5 separate regions of the Homo sapiens genome follow, and all the other regions are linked to region 3. The links are contacts of gene promoters, found by promoter capture Hi-C in blood cells and fetal thymus (Javierre and others, 2016). All regions are on one chromosome and are shown on one strand. The core of a region is centred on a gene start or on the middle of the fragment in contact, and the rest is flanking DNA. Distances in the headings are between cores, read along the strand shown. Region 1 holds the start of CD84-AS1 (CD84 antisense RNA 1). Region 2 holds the start of PEX19 (peroxisomal biogenesis factor 19). Region 3 holds the start of DEDD (death effector domain containing). Region 4 overlaps VANGL2 (VANGL planar cell polarity protein 2). Region 5 holds the start of DCAF8 (DDB1 and CUL4 associated factor 8).

The links. Contacts are between HindIII fragments. The CHiCAGO score rates a contact against its expected background, and 5 or more counts as called.
Region 1: a contact is called between the fragment with the promoter of CD84-AS1 here and the fragment with the promoter of DEDD in region 3, in 11 of 17 cell types (total B cells, total CD4 T cells, naive B cells and 8 more). The highest score is 16.7, in total B cells.
Region 2: a contact is called between the fragment with the promoter of PEX19 here and the fragment with the promoter of DEDD in region 3, in 5 of 17 cell types (non-activated CD4 T cells, fetal thymus, total CD4 T cells and 2 more). The highest score is 7.5, in non-activated CD4 T cells.
Region 4: a contact is called between a fragment that was not itself captured here and the fragment with the promoter of DEDD in region 3, in 1 of 17 cell types (fetal thymus). The highest score is 5.1, in fetal thymus.
Region 5: the fragment with the promoter of DCAF8 here is called in contact with the fragment with the promoter of DEDD in region 3 in 2 of 17 cell types (non-activated CD4 T cells and total CD4 T cells); the score reaches 8.0 in non-activated CD4 T cells.

Annotation. Positions count from the first base shown.
Region 1 is chr1:160,535,787-160,538,486 of GRCh38, forward strand. It overlaps CD84-AS1 (CD84 antisense RNA 1), which reads left to right and starts at 1,310. Exons shown (of 2, transcript NR_188634.1): 1 at 1,310-1,401. The HindIII fragment of the contact is 1,945 bases long and covers 427-2,371 here.
Region 2 is chr1:160,283,762-160,286,461 of GRCh38, forward strand. It overlaps PEX19 (peroxisomal biogenesis factor 19), which reads right to left and starts at 1,372. Exons shown (of 8, transcript NM_002857.4): 1 at 1,294-1,372. The coding sequence starts at 1,363. LOC107985219 (a long non-coding RNA gene) reads left to right here and starts at 604. Exons shown (of 3, transcript XR_001738265.2): 1 at 604-1,094; 2 at 2,556-2,600. The HindIII fragment of the contact is 4,290 bases long and covers 1-1,506 here.
Region 3 is chr1:161,131,385-161,134,084 of GRCh38, forward strand. It overlaps DEDD (death effector domain containing), which reads right to left and starts at 1,283. Exons shown (of 6, transcript NM_032998.3): 1 at 1,167-1,283. RefSeq lists enhancers at 153-976, 1,438-1,747 and silencers at 798-1,017, 1,068-1,417. The HindIII fragment of the contact is 8,185 bases long and covers 1-2,700 here.
Region 4 is chr1:160,401,574-160,404,273 of GRCh38, forward strand. The region is part of intron 1 of VANGL2 (VANGL planar cell polarity protein 2); the gene reads left to right. All of the region lies in intron 3 of LOC105371466 (a long non-coding RNA gene), which reads right to left. Among named protein-coding and RNA genes, the nearest start is that of VANGL2, 2.4 kb to the left of the region's middle. The HindIII fragment of the contact is 1,292 bases long and covers 751-2,042 here.
Region 5 is chr1:160,261,188-160,263,887 of GRCh38, forward strand. It overlaps DCAF8 (DDB1 and CUL4 associated factor 8), which reads right to left and starts at 1,362. Exons shown (of 14, transcript NM_015726.4): 1 at 1,262-1,362; 2 at 98-171. It overlaps DCAF8-DT (DCAF8 divergent transcript), which reads left to right and starts at 562. Exons shown (of 2, transcript NR_147618.1): 1 at 562-735; 2 at 1,214-1,591. RefSeq lists enhancers at 297-1,245, 417-546, 1,177-1,446. The HindIII fragment of the contact is 7,814 bases long and covers 1-2,700 here.

The DNA of each region.
Region 1 (2,700 bases), core at 60-2,559, 600 kb before region 3:
AAAATTGTGTCTACTTCATCTATGTTATCCAATTTGTTTGTAGTAGTCTCTTCTATTCATTTCTGAAAAATTGGTTGTAGTGTCCTCATTTTCATTTCCAATTTTAGTAATTTGAGCACTCTGTCTTTTTTTCCATAACCACTCTAACTAAATTTGCCAATTTCGTTGATCCTTTTAAGTAATCAACTTTTTGGTTCATTAATTTTCTCTATTTTATCTCTGGTCTAATCTTTATTATTTTCTTTATTTTGATAGCTTTGGGTTCATAGTAGTGGCACTTTCCCACTTGAGATCTGAATTAAGTGAAATAGAGACCAGTTCTTCATGGACTCCTAAGACAGATTAGAATATTGCAAATAAGATCTGTTATGTTCCCTCCCATTCAAGAGAGGGAACTGAGAAGTGAACTCCTGCCTCCTCTAAACAAGCTTTCTGTTGGGATGAGGAGGGGATGGGGCAAGGGCAAGAAAAATGCCATGGAACTTTTCCTACCATTTCAAAAGTGGCTTTTTCTTCATTGGGCATTTGATTGGTTGTTATAAAACTCTGACTGTTTTCCAGAGTCCCTATAAGGTTAATTCAACCATTTGGGTTTTTTTTTGTTTGTTTGGCTGTTTTTTTATTACTCTAAGTTGGGGGAAAGAGAGAGTTTGGAATTTCCTAGTCCACCACTTTGCTGACATCACTCTCTCTATCTCTATACTTTTACACTGATTTTTAAAAAGATGATAGAAATGTGTTCACATATTTCTTAAGTAACTAAAAATTAGTGACATTATCCAAGATCTTGGTGGATAAATAATATTCTCTCTGAAGAACCAATGCCCCTTAGAAAAATGACTGATTCTAGATGTGAGATAGCCTCTTATATGTATTTCTTGACTCACTTTACTAACAAGGATCTTCAATACAATACAGTTGAAGAGTAGCAGTGATCTTGTATTCACTGAATACAAGAATGGTTACTTGTATTCATTTCTTTATTAAGAATGCCTCTAATGTTTCCAATAAATGTTTGCTACATATGCTGTATCAAGTTGTAAAAGTTTAACCCGAGCCAGTCATTTGCTTATTTGCTCTCAGCTCTATTCCCACCCTTCTGTGTTCCTTGTTTTTCAGAAGGTTAGAAGTCTGCAAACTACATTTATCATTTCCATTGTCAGATGGCTTCTGATTAGATTTTGTCACTGGGTGGTATTGGTTAAAGTTGGATGGAAGGAATAAATTATATATTTTTCCATAATCTTGGTTTCTGGTAATGTTTTCAGTAGTGGCAGTGATAGCAGAAGATGAGTACCGCTTCAGGGTTCCTGGTGTAGCAGTGCAGTTCCAGCAAGCATGTCAGAAGTCTTGCTAGTGTGGTACTGGTGGGATCAGGCTTTGATGGTGGCATCTGCAGTGGTGAGTTATTTTTGTCTCCCAGAGTCTCACAGTTTTGATGAGACTGTGAACTCTTAGAATCTTGAAAGCTGGCAGCACTGATTCCCAAGACAAATTTCCATAGGGACAAAGTTCCATAGCAACTTCCTGGAATTATTAATTGCTTGGTAACCTCAGCTTCCCTGTTTTACTCCTCCATCACTTTTGGAATCAATTCCCTATATTCAGCTTGTTGAGTTTTCAGTATTTAACATGGTCTCAGTTTTTTAAAATTGGATATTGACTAAAACACATTCTATTTTTAGCTTTCTTGAAAACTTTTTAAATCAGTCATGGGTATTCAGTTTTATCAAATATATATTGTAGACTATGTCAGGATGATTATTTTTTTCATCTCCTTTAATCTGTTTGAACAGCAAATTACAATAGATGGTTTCTTAAAGATAAATCATCCTGGCACTCTAAGGATAAAATCCTACTTGGTCGCATTTTTTTTTCTTTTAATGCATTGCTTTAAAATTGACTGAAGTTTAAGATTTTTAACATTTATATTTATAAGTGAGATTGGACTATATCAGGATGTGGCAGACTTTTTCTGTAAAGGTCCCAGTAGTGAATATTGGACTTTGTGGACCATACAATCTCCTTTGCAACTACTCAACTCTGCTGGTGTAGTATGGAAGCAGCCATAATAAACACATAAAAGAATGCGTGTTGGCTGTGTTTCAATAAAACTTTATTTATGGATGCTGAAATTTGAATTTCACATAATTTTAACATGTCCCAAAATATTATTATTCTTTGAATTCTTTTCAACCATTTTAAAAATGTAAACTATTCTTAGTTCGTGGGTCAAATAAAAACAGATGGCAGACTGGATGTGGCCACACGCCATAGTTTGCTAACTCCTGGCCTATGTATCTCTTTGTGGGGGATCATCCTTATCTGGCTTTGGAATCAGTGTTATATTATAGTATTTAATGAATTTGGAAGCTTCCCACTGTTTTCTATGCCTTGGGACAGTTAAGATGACTGGGAATTATCCTTTCATTGTAGGTGATAGGACTAGCCCTTAAGACCATCTAGGCTGGTACACTTTTGGCAATTAGACCACTGAATATCTTTCCATTTTTTTTCAGGTTAAAGAATTTCTTCTAATTATAAACTAACTTTCTCTCTCTCTTTCTTTCTTTCCTTTCCTTTTCTTTTTTTTTTCTTTCTTTTCTTTCTTTTGAGAAAGAGTCTTGCTCTGTTGCCCAGGCTGGAGTGCAGTGGCACCATCTCAGCTCACTGCAACCTCTGCCTCCCGGGTTCAAGCAA
Region 2 (2,700 bases), core at 122-2,621, 850 kb before region 3:
CCTCCTTGAGTCCCCCACCTCCCCAGACCACCCTCAATGAGCCTCCTACTTCCTTCTGGATTACCTAATTTATTGTGAGCAAAGGCAAAGAAATCCCTTAAGGTGGAACAAATGTCCATCTCAGAGCTGGGAGGAGAGGATTAAAAAGTTCTGCAGAGACATCTCCATCTATAGTGTCTCCCTTGCCACACCCTAACGATTCCCTAGAAATCCCATACAAATACCCAACAGTAGTAGAGAACACAGATGTCCTCATCCCTCTGAACTCACTCTGGAGCTCTAAAAGGAATAACTTGGTGAGAAAGCACAGGACATCCCACCCAGCTTCCTGTTGGTACTGGTACCAGCACAGACTGAGGGACTACATACCAGACTCCATGGTACGGCATTAAACTATCTTCTCTTATTCTCCAGTTTAGTGCTCCCCAACAACCTTCTAGAGCTCCCTTTGGCCTGATCTCTGCAGATAACCGTACACTAATTTACACAGTCACTTGGCACTCCTCAGGGTTTCTGTTCATTTTTCTGCCTGCCCACATCTCCGTGATTGAGCAAGCGATTACAAATTCACCTCTGCCCTGAAAAGCCTGTGTCCTCACCACCATTCTGTTCGCCAGGCCTAGGGAGAGAGCACTGGCCCTACTCTGGGCAGGAAGTCAACAGGGGAGTGGAGAGTAATGCTAAGAAAACATCCCCCGTCTTTCAGGAGGGTGAACTGCTTTCCCCTGAAATCGCCACATCCTCAGTTTCTCAAAATAAGGGAAAGGAGTCCGCTTGAGCTACTGACAAGATGAAAGAACTGTTAAGGGGCCTAACGAGAGAAAGAGAAAAGGACTAGGAGGAGAAAAGTGTCTTTCGTGTTAAGGAAGACAGGACGAGGCACACAAGGACCGGCCACGAGCTTGCTAGGAGTTAATGTAAGCAATCAGTGAGTGCGTAGTTCGCTACCCAGCAAGAACCAAATGCTGCTGCTGCTGCTACTGCTGCTGAAGTCGAACTTTAAGAACTCAGTAACCTAAAGAGGAGTTTGAAGAGGTATCATGAAACGCCGTCCTGCGGAAACATCCACCATCCGGACCACTGAGGGACCCCAGGTGAGCTCCCCAGCTCCAGTCGCCGGGGTGGGGCAGGATGACCCAGAGATTTTTGGGGGGCTCGGGGGTCAGACTCTCCGCCCCCATTTAACCTTTGGAGAGCCTCTCCTGCCCGTCCCTAATATCTCAGGTTCACTTAACCCCCAGAATGGGTCCTCACACGTGCCCTCTTCGGGCCTTTCCCACTATGGGCTCTTACTTTCCAGAAGCTCCTCCAATTCCCTGTCCGCTTCGGCCCCGACACTACAGCCTTCCTCAGCGGCGGCCATCTTGCTACCTCCGACTTGCCGTAGGAGGCGGGACCTCCTCGGTGCCGACACGCCCTCCACCCCTTCGCTCCCGCCCTCTTCTGCCTCGGGTAACCAATGGTATTGTTGACCAGTGCGGAACCGCCATTTTTAAAGGGCCAGGAAGCTTTGAGTGTTTGTGTTTTGGGTATTTTTCCCTTTTCTCCTGTGAAACAGAATTAGGGATAAGATAGGGTTATTTTCTGTCTGGTTTTAGAGGCCCGGACTCCTTTCTTTCAACTTCCCAAATTACCTGGCGAAGCTCTTTCATTATTTTTTCCTGAGCTGTGAGTAGGCCAGATTGAGACAAACTGCCTACAAATAACCAGAATCTAAACATATATAATTGATATGACAATTATGGCACATAACATACTACTTTCTCTCACTTCATTTTTTTTTTTTTATTTTTTTTTGAGAAGGAATCTTGCTCTGTCGCCTACGCTGGAATGCAGTGGCGCCATCTCGGCTCACTGCAGCCTTGGCCTCCCGGGTTCAAGCGATTCTTCCTGCCTCAGCCTCCCGTGTAGCTGGGATGACAGGCGCGCGACACCACGTCCGACTAATTTTTGTAGAGACGGGGTTTTAACATGTTGGCCAGGCTGGTTGGCCAGGCTGGTCTCGAACTCCGGACCTCAGCTGATCCGCCCACCTCGGCCTCCCGAAGTGCTGGGATTACAGGCGTGAGCCACTGCGCCCGGCTTCACTTCATTGTTTCCCTCAAATATTATCTTTTCTGAAACGCTTTCCTTGGCCATTCCCGTTCCTTTTCTTCCTAACACTGAACAGTATCTGACATACTATCTACCGTACTTTTTTATTCTCCGCTCCCCACCCTGCAGAATTTAAACACCATGAACGCAAAGATTTTCGTCTGTTGTCTTCACTGCTGTAAAGCCCAACTCCCAGGCTAGGGTTTAAAACTTAGTAGGCATTCATTGGCCACTCTTTGCTCTCGCAGTCCCTAATCAGGCACATCTGTCTGCCCAATCTAGTGGCATCTCTCATTTCCTATTATCTATTAGAACTGTTTGATTAAAGGACACAGGGCCGGCCAGGAACTTAGAACTCCATGTTATTAAGAGAGCCTCTGGTACCTTGGACTGAGCAGGGCAATTCGAATGCAGTAGTAATAGACTTACTTTCCCTGAACAATCTCCTTTTCTCCACACAGAACCCAACCTCCAACTGAGTGAACACGGGGAATGCTCAGATAGAGGTAACTCTAGACGTCCCTTTCCTCCTTTGGAATTGTTCTATTCAGATGTCAGAATGTAGCAACTGTTTCACATACAAATCTGTTTTCGCACTTAGAGAGC
Region 3 (2,700 bases), core at 33-2,532:
ATCCATGTTACCCCCTCCCTTCCAGACTTAAAACAGCAAAAGGGTCTGGAAACTACAGCACTCATTTAATTAACCTGTCTAGATGCCACTCTATCTTTTCTCTTTCCCTCCTCAGACTTCCAGAGCCTCCACCTTAGCATATAGGGTTCCAATATAGCCATGTCTGCTCCCCCACTCTTGTATTGCTAATGCTAAAAACTAGAAAAGTCCTTTGCTCCTCCACACTTGGGCGACACCGGCTTCCCCATTTTCCCAAGCAGGAAAAACAAGGGAACAGTAAGCTAGGGAGTCTTTTGGAAAACAAACCCAGTTGAATTCTCATCCAACCCCAATTCTGCAAACCCACATGACCATTCCCTTCTGCCCTTCCCACCCTCTTAAAAGCTAAGGGCCTGGCAATTAGAATTGGCTGCAACTGATGCTGCTTAACTCTGTTCTCTCCTCCTCTCCACCGGGGAAAGGGAAACCCCCGAACCTCTATCACCCGTGCAGCTCCACTGTCCTATCTCCCATTCCACTCCCCTTCCTCCCAAACTTTCTTCCTCCCAGTCTCTCACTTTCTCCATTACCTCCTCCCACCGACACTCTCTCCATTCCCCAAGCCTCCGTTCTCTCCTTTTCCACCCAAATTCTCCCCTAGGCCCTTCCCCCTCCCACCTCCAATTTAACACTTTCGAAGCCCCCCAGAAACGTCTTAACTCCAATTCTGACCTTTACCCACCTCCTCGCAACACCCCTCATCAGAGTCCAGTCCTCCCTCCAACCACATGCCACAGCCCCCTTCCCCTTCACACCCTCAGCCTCTCCCTCCTGCTCCTACCCCCTTCAATACGAGCGGATCGCAGCCCCACTCCCCACCTCGGCCTCTCTAATACCCCTGGCTGGGCCCAGTCTCAGCCCTTGTTTACGCCCCTCCCCATGCCCTCACTCCTCCGTCTCGACCCCTGCCCTCTCCCGCAGTTGCCATCTCCCCTGCACGCCCCCCTCGGCAGCTCCCCTCCCCCACCTCTCAGCGTCCCGTCACCTCCCTCTCTTGAGGTTCTCAGGCTGGACGTCGCCACCGCCTCCCCCTCCACTTTCCTTCCCCAAGCCCTTTGCGGCCCCGCCCGGCCCCGCCCCGTCCCGCTCGACTCCCTCTCCCCACTCCGGCCGCCCCTCCGCCTCACTCTCGGCTCAGGCTCGGCGCCGCCATGTTGGATCCATCCGCGCCGCTCTCCCGGGCCTGCCTCACGGCGCCGCATCCGGGCTCCAGCAGCCGCCGCCGCCGCCGCCGCCGCGGCCGTGGGGGAGGGGACAGGCGGGCGGGGGTGGCTGCATCCTGAACGGCGCCTCCCGGAACCCGGCCGGTTAGTGGCGGCTTCGAGGCCATAGTGAGACATGAGCCGGAGTAGCCATAGTAAGTGAGGGCAGCCTGGCAGCGGCATTAATCGGGGAGTGGATAGCTTCACTTCGGGAGGAGAGATAGAGATTGGCAGCCATCTTGCTTTGGGGCAAGCTGGCAACGCCGGTTTGTCTTGACGGCTGCTTAGGGCGGTAATAAGGGATCGAAGAGGATAGCATTCTTGAATGGGAAACATTGGTGGCGCCACAGCTGGCTGGTGGCGACTTCAAGACCCACTGGAAGGCTGGGATTGGCAGCCATGACTCATAAGGGCGGAATACCACGGGGATCGGTTTGTCTGGCGAACTTGAGTGAAGGGTCAAGATCTGGATTTCACCTTTCCTCTGAGCTTCCTGATAACCCGGACGTTCCGTAAACCCGGATCCGGAGCCGAAAGTGGTGCCCAGATCCCGTCTCGGAATTCATTTGTTCAGCATTTACCTTTTGAACGCCGGTTTCCTGTAGGAAGTGTCGCCTAGCTGATCCGTGTAGGGCTGTTGGGAATTGGGGGTGGGGAGGATGGTGCGGGTACGTTCTGGTGTGGCTTAAGAAAGTGGTAATAGATAGGGGAAGACCAGATTATGCGAAGCCTTGTAAATTAATTGATTTTTATCCTTAAGGCAATGAAAAGTCTTTGAAGAATCTCAGCAGAGGTGTGAACAATTTCATTTGCATTTTAGATCGCTGCGTGCAGTGTGAAGGATGAATGAATTGAGGAGAATCAAGGAGAGCAGTTGTGAGGCTCTTTTCCAGGCAAGGATGATGATGGTCTGCCTGTGGAAGGGAGAGTGCGGATGGGGAGATACAGATTGGTTTAAGAGGTACGAATGTTGTGACTTGGACAACTGGGGAATAATGATACCAGTTTCTTTCTCGTTTAGGGGGGAGATAATGAGTTTTAGGTGCCCCTGGGATATTAGCTAATGTGGGTTGGGAACTCAAAAGAAAGGTTTGAGGTGTGTGTGCGTGTGCATATAGATAGCTGTTGAAGCCATGAAGTGGGCTGGAGAGGATACCTGCATTTGCGGGATAGGATGAGGGAAGCCGAAAAGAACACTGAGAAGGGGCAAACCGAAAGGAAAGAAGAAAACCATAGAGAACTATCAAGGAAACTGGTGAAAGCGTTTAGTGTAACAGAGATATAGTAAAATGCTAACTAAAATATATACATCAGGGCCGGGCATGGTGACTCACACCTGTAATCCTAGCTTTGGGAGGCCGAGGCGGGTGGATCACTTGAGGCCAGGAGTTCGAGACCAGCCTGACCAACATGGTGAAACCCTGTCTCTTCTAAAAATACAAAAAAAATTAGATGGGTG
Region 4 (2,700 bases), core at 147-2,646, 730 kb before region 3:
CGCCTTGACGTGCTGCATGTTCCTGCAGGTGGGCCCCTGGTTTGGATGTGTAGGTGTTTTTCTGTGCTTGAGTGTGTGTGCACCCAGGGAGCGGCTGACCATGCATCTGCTGTGTGTTTGGATATGTGTTTATATGTATACTTAGGGGAGGGCGTGTATGTCTATGTGTGTGTACTGGGAGAGGGGTTCACGGGAAAGAGGTGTGTAGGTACTGAGGAAGGTGGGTGTGTAAGAGCAGAATGGAGTGTATGTGGATAGGTGTGTGTGCACCTGTGTACTGGGAAGGGGTGTGAATCTGTGTTCTCTTGTGTGTAACCTGTGTTGATGGGTATCAATGTGTGTGCCTGCCTTAGCTGGTATGTATGTTTCTGAGTGTGTGTCGGGGGTACCTCTAGACTCTGCAGGCAGATTTTCCTGGCAAAAATCCCGAAAAGAAGGCTGTCTGCAGGATTTTGAGACTTCGTGGATGGCCTCGCCTGGGTTTAGGGGTAGTACCTTAAGTATCTGAGACCTATGGGTGGGAGGGAATGAGTTGTCTTATGAAGTGCCTGTTTTTGGGGGATGGGTTTTTCTGGAAGAGGGCGTGTGTTGTGGGGAATAGGGAACAAGGGGTCTGGTTGTAGTCCTAGAGGAATTTGGAAGATTGGCGGGGTCAGGGAGAAGAATAAGAGGAACTTCCTCCCCCATCGTCATAGGCTGGGTTCCAGCGCTTGGAGAAGCTACACTCTTGGATTCCCAGCCTTAGGTAAAAGCTTCAGGCCACAGTTCTCTTGGAAAGCCGTCTCAGAGTTTGCTGCTTCATAGCCTTCTAACTCTGCCCTGACTCTAAGATCCTAAAGTTCCTGAGGAGTCTTGAGATTTTGGTGTGGGATGGAAACAAGAGGAGGAAGCATGTCTGGAGGGTTGAGACCTGGTGGGGAACAGCTTGGGTTCCCTGCCCATGGGGTTGAGAAGGTGGCATAGGGTGTTTCTTCAGCAGCTTTTGCAAGTGAGTCTGTGTGGTTTATCAGACCAAAAAGTTTCCCTTTTCCCTGGTGTCAAGCATGATTGAGATGGAGCTGTGGGTGTGGGGCCAGGGCTGAGTGTCTGTGTGTCGGGAAAGGGCCAGGTACCCATTGCAGGCTATACTGCTATACTCATCATCATGATAGTGTGGTGGGAAGTCAGTGACTATCCAGGAAGTGAATGTCTCTTTCCACCAAGAAGCCACAGCTCCCTTCTCTCCCTGTCCTCTCTCATCCTTTCTCTTTTGGGGTATAGGAAAGGGGTTGCTCACCTCCTTCTTTAGGATACTAGCCTTCCCCCATTGCACACTCTTTTTGCTGCCAGTGGCTGGGTTGAGGCACCCAGTTTTAAGAGCTGAGGTGAGATTGTACATACCCATTATGGTCTCTGGGCAATTGCAATTGGAATGTTAGAGTCTCTAATGGGCATGTGCAATTGGAATGTTCCCTCTTTAGTCCTCAGGGCTCCCTACCCTCCCTAAGGCCTGGAGATAAGAGTAGTAGGGGTTAGAAAATGTTTGAACGAGGAACGGGGAACGGGGCAGAGTAGGAAAAGACCTTTAAAAGACCTTTTTTTTTTTTTAATGGATCATTCCCCCAAACCCAACACCTGTCTGATAGTTAGGGCTCCCAGGGCTAGTAAGGCACTTGCATCTAAGATGGTGTGCCCTGGCCCTCTGGGGTCCCTTGTTTGCTCTGTATACGCTGATCACATGCATGATATATTATGCTGGTGGGGGCTCTCTTCCAAAGAGGAGGAATTGTGGTCAGATAATAGGAAATGCCATTTCTGAAAGTACTTCCAGATTGGGAGTCAGTGGCCACGTTGGCCCCTCCTCACCCATTGTCTTGCTCCTGACTTCTATTTCCTCTAATTCTTCCGGGGCAGGCCTCTCTGGTGTGTTTGCCTCTCCTCCTGATCCTTTTAGATCTGAGGAAATATCCCCCCTTCCCTGGCCCTAGAGCAGGACAGTTTTTTATCTGCTCATCTGGTTTCCAGGTCCTTCCAGTTAATGGGGAGGGAACTTGACTAACAGAAGCTTTGGCAGGGAAAAGGAAGAGATCTGATCCCCTCTGAGTTTTAGGGAACTCCAGTCTTCTCCTTCCCTCAAGTGTTCATCACATTGTGAGGCCAGAGAAAGGAGTCAGAGTTGGTTGGAATTAGTACTTAACAGTGGTGTGATCTGGGCAAGTAATAAACCCCATTCCCCAGCCTCTTAGGTGTCTTAAGGCACATCCTCCAAGCCTAGACTGAGCCCTTCCACAAGGAATCCCTGGTCCCCCACCAAGTGGCTTTCTTCCCTGGTTTGCTTTTAAATTCTGGCTTTGCCACTGTCTAATTCCGTGACATCAGACAAAACTGGTAACTTTTTGAAGCCTCACCTGTAAAATGGAATTAATAATAGGCCCTACTTCTTGGGGTTATGAGGATTAAATGAAATAATAGAGAAAGCACGTTGCACAGTTCCTGGCACATAGTAAATGTTAGCTGGATGGTTCGGATTCTGAGGGATAATCATCATTAAGGGAGAGAGGTCGGAGTCGGGATAGGAGAACTAGGCTTTGGTTCTGATCTTCCTTTGGCCGACCACATTAGGCACTCTCTCCTATCTGCCAGGCACAGTGTGAAGCACAGGGGATGGAGGGGCAAATAAGATGTTTTCCCAGGGGAGACATGTGAAAACATGTTGATTCA
Region 5 (2,700 bases), core at 112-2,611, 870 kb before region 3:
AACTGGTAGGAATTTTATGACTTTAGTGGTCAGCAGTTGAGCATCAGCGCAGTCTGTCTTGAACTCAAGAATTTTAATGCCTCCAACTCCCACTCACCTTTCCTCCTTTTATCACTGAAGTAAGGCCAGGCTGAGCTCCTGAGAAAATAGGTCTGTAGATTCACTGAAGGACTGAGAAAAGTTAAAATTTACATGGCAAAGGTGTGTCTTCTACTGAACATAATAAAAATATTTATGAATACACTTTAGTATTTTTAGGCCTTCTCAAAACTACTTAAAAGCAGAATACTTTATCTAATTCTAATTACTGAACAAATAACCCACACACATATGGAAATAAAATGAACCAACATGAAGATTAGAAGCCAGGCAAGTAATCTCCCAGCTCCACTAAAACGTAAAGTCATTTAAAAGGATAACCTGAATCTTTTCAACGCTAAACCATAACCAAACAACCTCTCAACAAGAAGCCACAGAGCAGGGGGGGAAATCCCGGAGAGAATGTGATAGCGCTAGTGCCGGTTTGTTTACAGAGACTCCAGTAACAATCATGAGTCAGAAATTCAAGCCACCAGATGCTTTCCAACTAACAGGGACCAAATGGGACCGTTCTAAGATATCCTAAAAGATTTGGGAGTTAGAGGAGGTAAACTAAGATAATTATATTACAAAGGGTACAAGACCACAAGACAACAACCGACTCCGGAATTCTTGGACCTCCGCCTTCCGTACAAGGTGCTGGGCCTGGGAACTTGGGATGGGGGAGGGGGACACATTGCGCGGTGGCCCTGAGGTGACGGGGAGACGCAGGGCGAGCCGTGTCCCTCAATCTAAGGGGAGAAATAGGAGCGCACACATGGGTCACCCAACGAAGCAAGGCGTCCCTGTGAACTGTGCGGCTGGCTCTTGGGGGCAACACCAGGGCTGACCTGAGGAAAGGGCAACCAGTACTCCCAGCGATGACTTCGGGTCGGCGGAAGGAAAAGACCTGAGCGCTAAGAGCTTGGGATACGGGTCAGGCCCATCCTTAGGGGAAACCGGCTGGGAAGCGAGGGGGGGCGCAGGCCGAGCCGGAACGAGACACAGACCGGGTAGGTCAAGGGAGGGGGGGTGTCCGGCTGGGGCAGTTACAAGCACGGGAATCGGCGAGGCTCAGCAGCCCGCTTCCCGTCTTGGGTCATCCTTCTGCTAGCGGCTGCTCCGACTGTTCCAGGCCCAGCCGCCCCGTCCACTGCCACCACCAACGCCGCCGCCATCTTACACTGGCCAGCGGCCGCCACCACCACCGCCTCCGCTCTCTGCGCTTGCGCCTGCGCTGCCACGCTTTCCGGCCCCGTTTGCGACGATGTGCTCGAGAAGACTGAGGGAAGAGTGGTCGCGCGAGCTCACGGCTCGCAACCCTCCTCGAAGGACGCACAAGGGGCGGGGCTTAAGGCCAACGGAAAACAGAGCGAGAGGCGCCTGCGCATTACCGAAGAGGCAAAGTTGTTTTTGTAGTTTCTTCGGGCTTGCTTATCTTGTGATACTCTAAACAAATGCGAGTTAGGGGCTACCCAGAGTTGTGATAGAAATAAACTAAATTTCCAGCGGATTGGCAGGCCACTTCCTGGATGATGGCCAGTTTTGCCGTTTTTGAACACTGGAACGAGCAATGATTGCCACAAGGATTTCTTCTGAAAATCCCCGTTTCCTTTCAGGGCTTTGTTTCCTTAAGTGGTTTCTATACTATCGAGGCCCATTTTCCCCTGAGAGTCCCCATTTACGTATTTTTAAAGAAGGGGCTCAGTAGCTTGAGGTGTAGCTATTCCAGAAGCTCTTTTCTGAAGAGAGGTGGTGTGGGTAAAGGTTCCCAAGAGTGGGCCGGGTGATGTGGGGTGACTTTTGTACTCTGTTTCGTTATGACACCTACAGTAACCCTGCAGAGGATTACTCCCAGCTGCCAGGCTGGGGTATTTTTTTTTTTTTTCTTACCAGAAGCCCAGGGTGCAAAAATCTGACCCTTTCTCACCTCCCCTACCGCTACTCTCCTATTCCAAGTCATTACATATTACTTAAGACTACCGCAATAGAAACTTACCTCGTTTGTCTACTTCCATTATTGCCATTACAGTTAAACATAAGGCAGCCAGAGTGCTTTTTAAAAATGTAAGGTCTGGCCGGGCGCGGTGGCTCATGCCTGTAATCCTAGCACTTTGGGAGGCGGATGTGGGCGGATCACTTGAGGTCAGGAGTTCGAAACTCGTTTGAAACCAGGCCAACATGGTGAAACCCGTCTCTACGAAAAATACAAAAAAAAAAAAAAATTACCCGGCATGGTGGAGCGCGCCTGCAATCCCAGCTACTTGGGAGGCTGAGGCAGGAGAATTGCTTGAACCCGGAGGCGGAGGTTGCAGTGAGCTGAGATCGCACCACTGCACTCCAGGCTGGGCAATGGAATGAGACTCCGTCTCAAAAAAAAAGTAATGTCGTATTATTTCCCCAGTCCCCACCCTGCTCAAAACCTCCAATTCCCATCACATAATAAAAGTCAAAAGTATGATAGCCTTAGAGGCCATCAAAAAATGAATTGCCTCTAAGGAGGACCCTACATGATCTGATCTAGCACCTGCCTATTTATCTGATTCATCTCCTCCCACACTGCCTAGCTCTGCTCTAGCCTCACTAGCCTTACTGTCACTCCAGTCAAAGCATGTCCCAGCC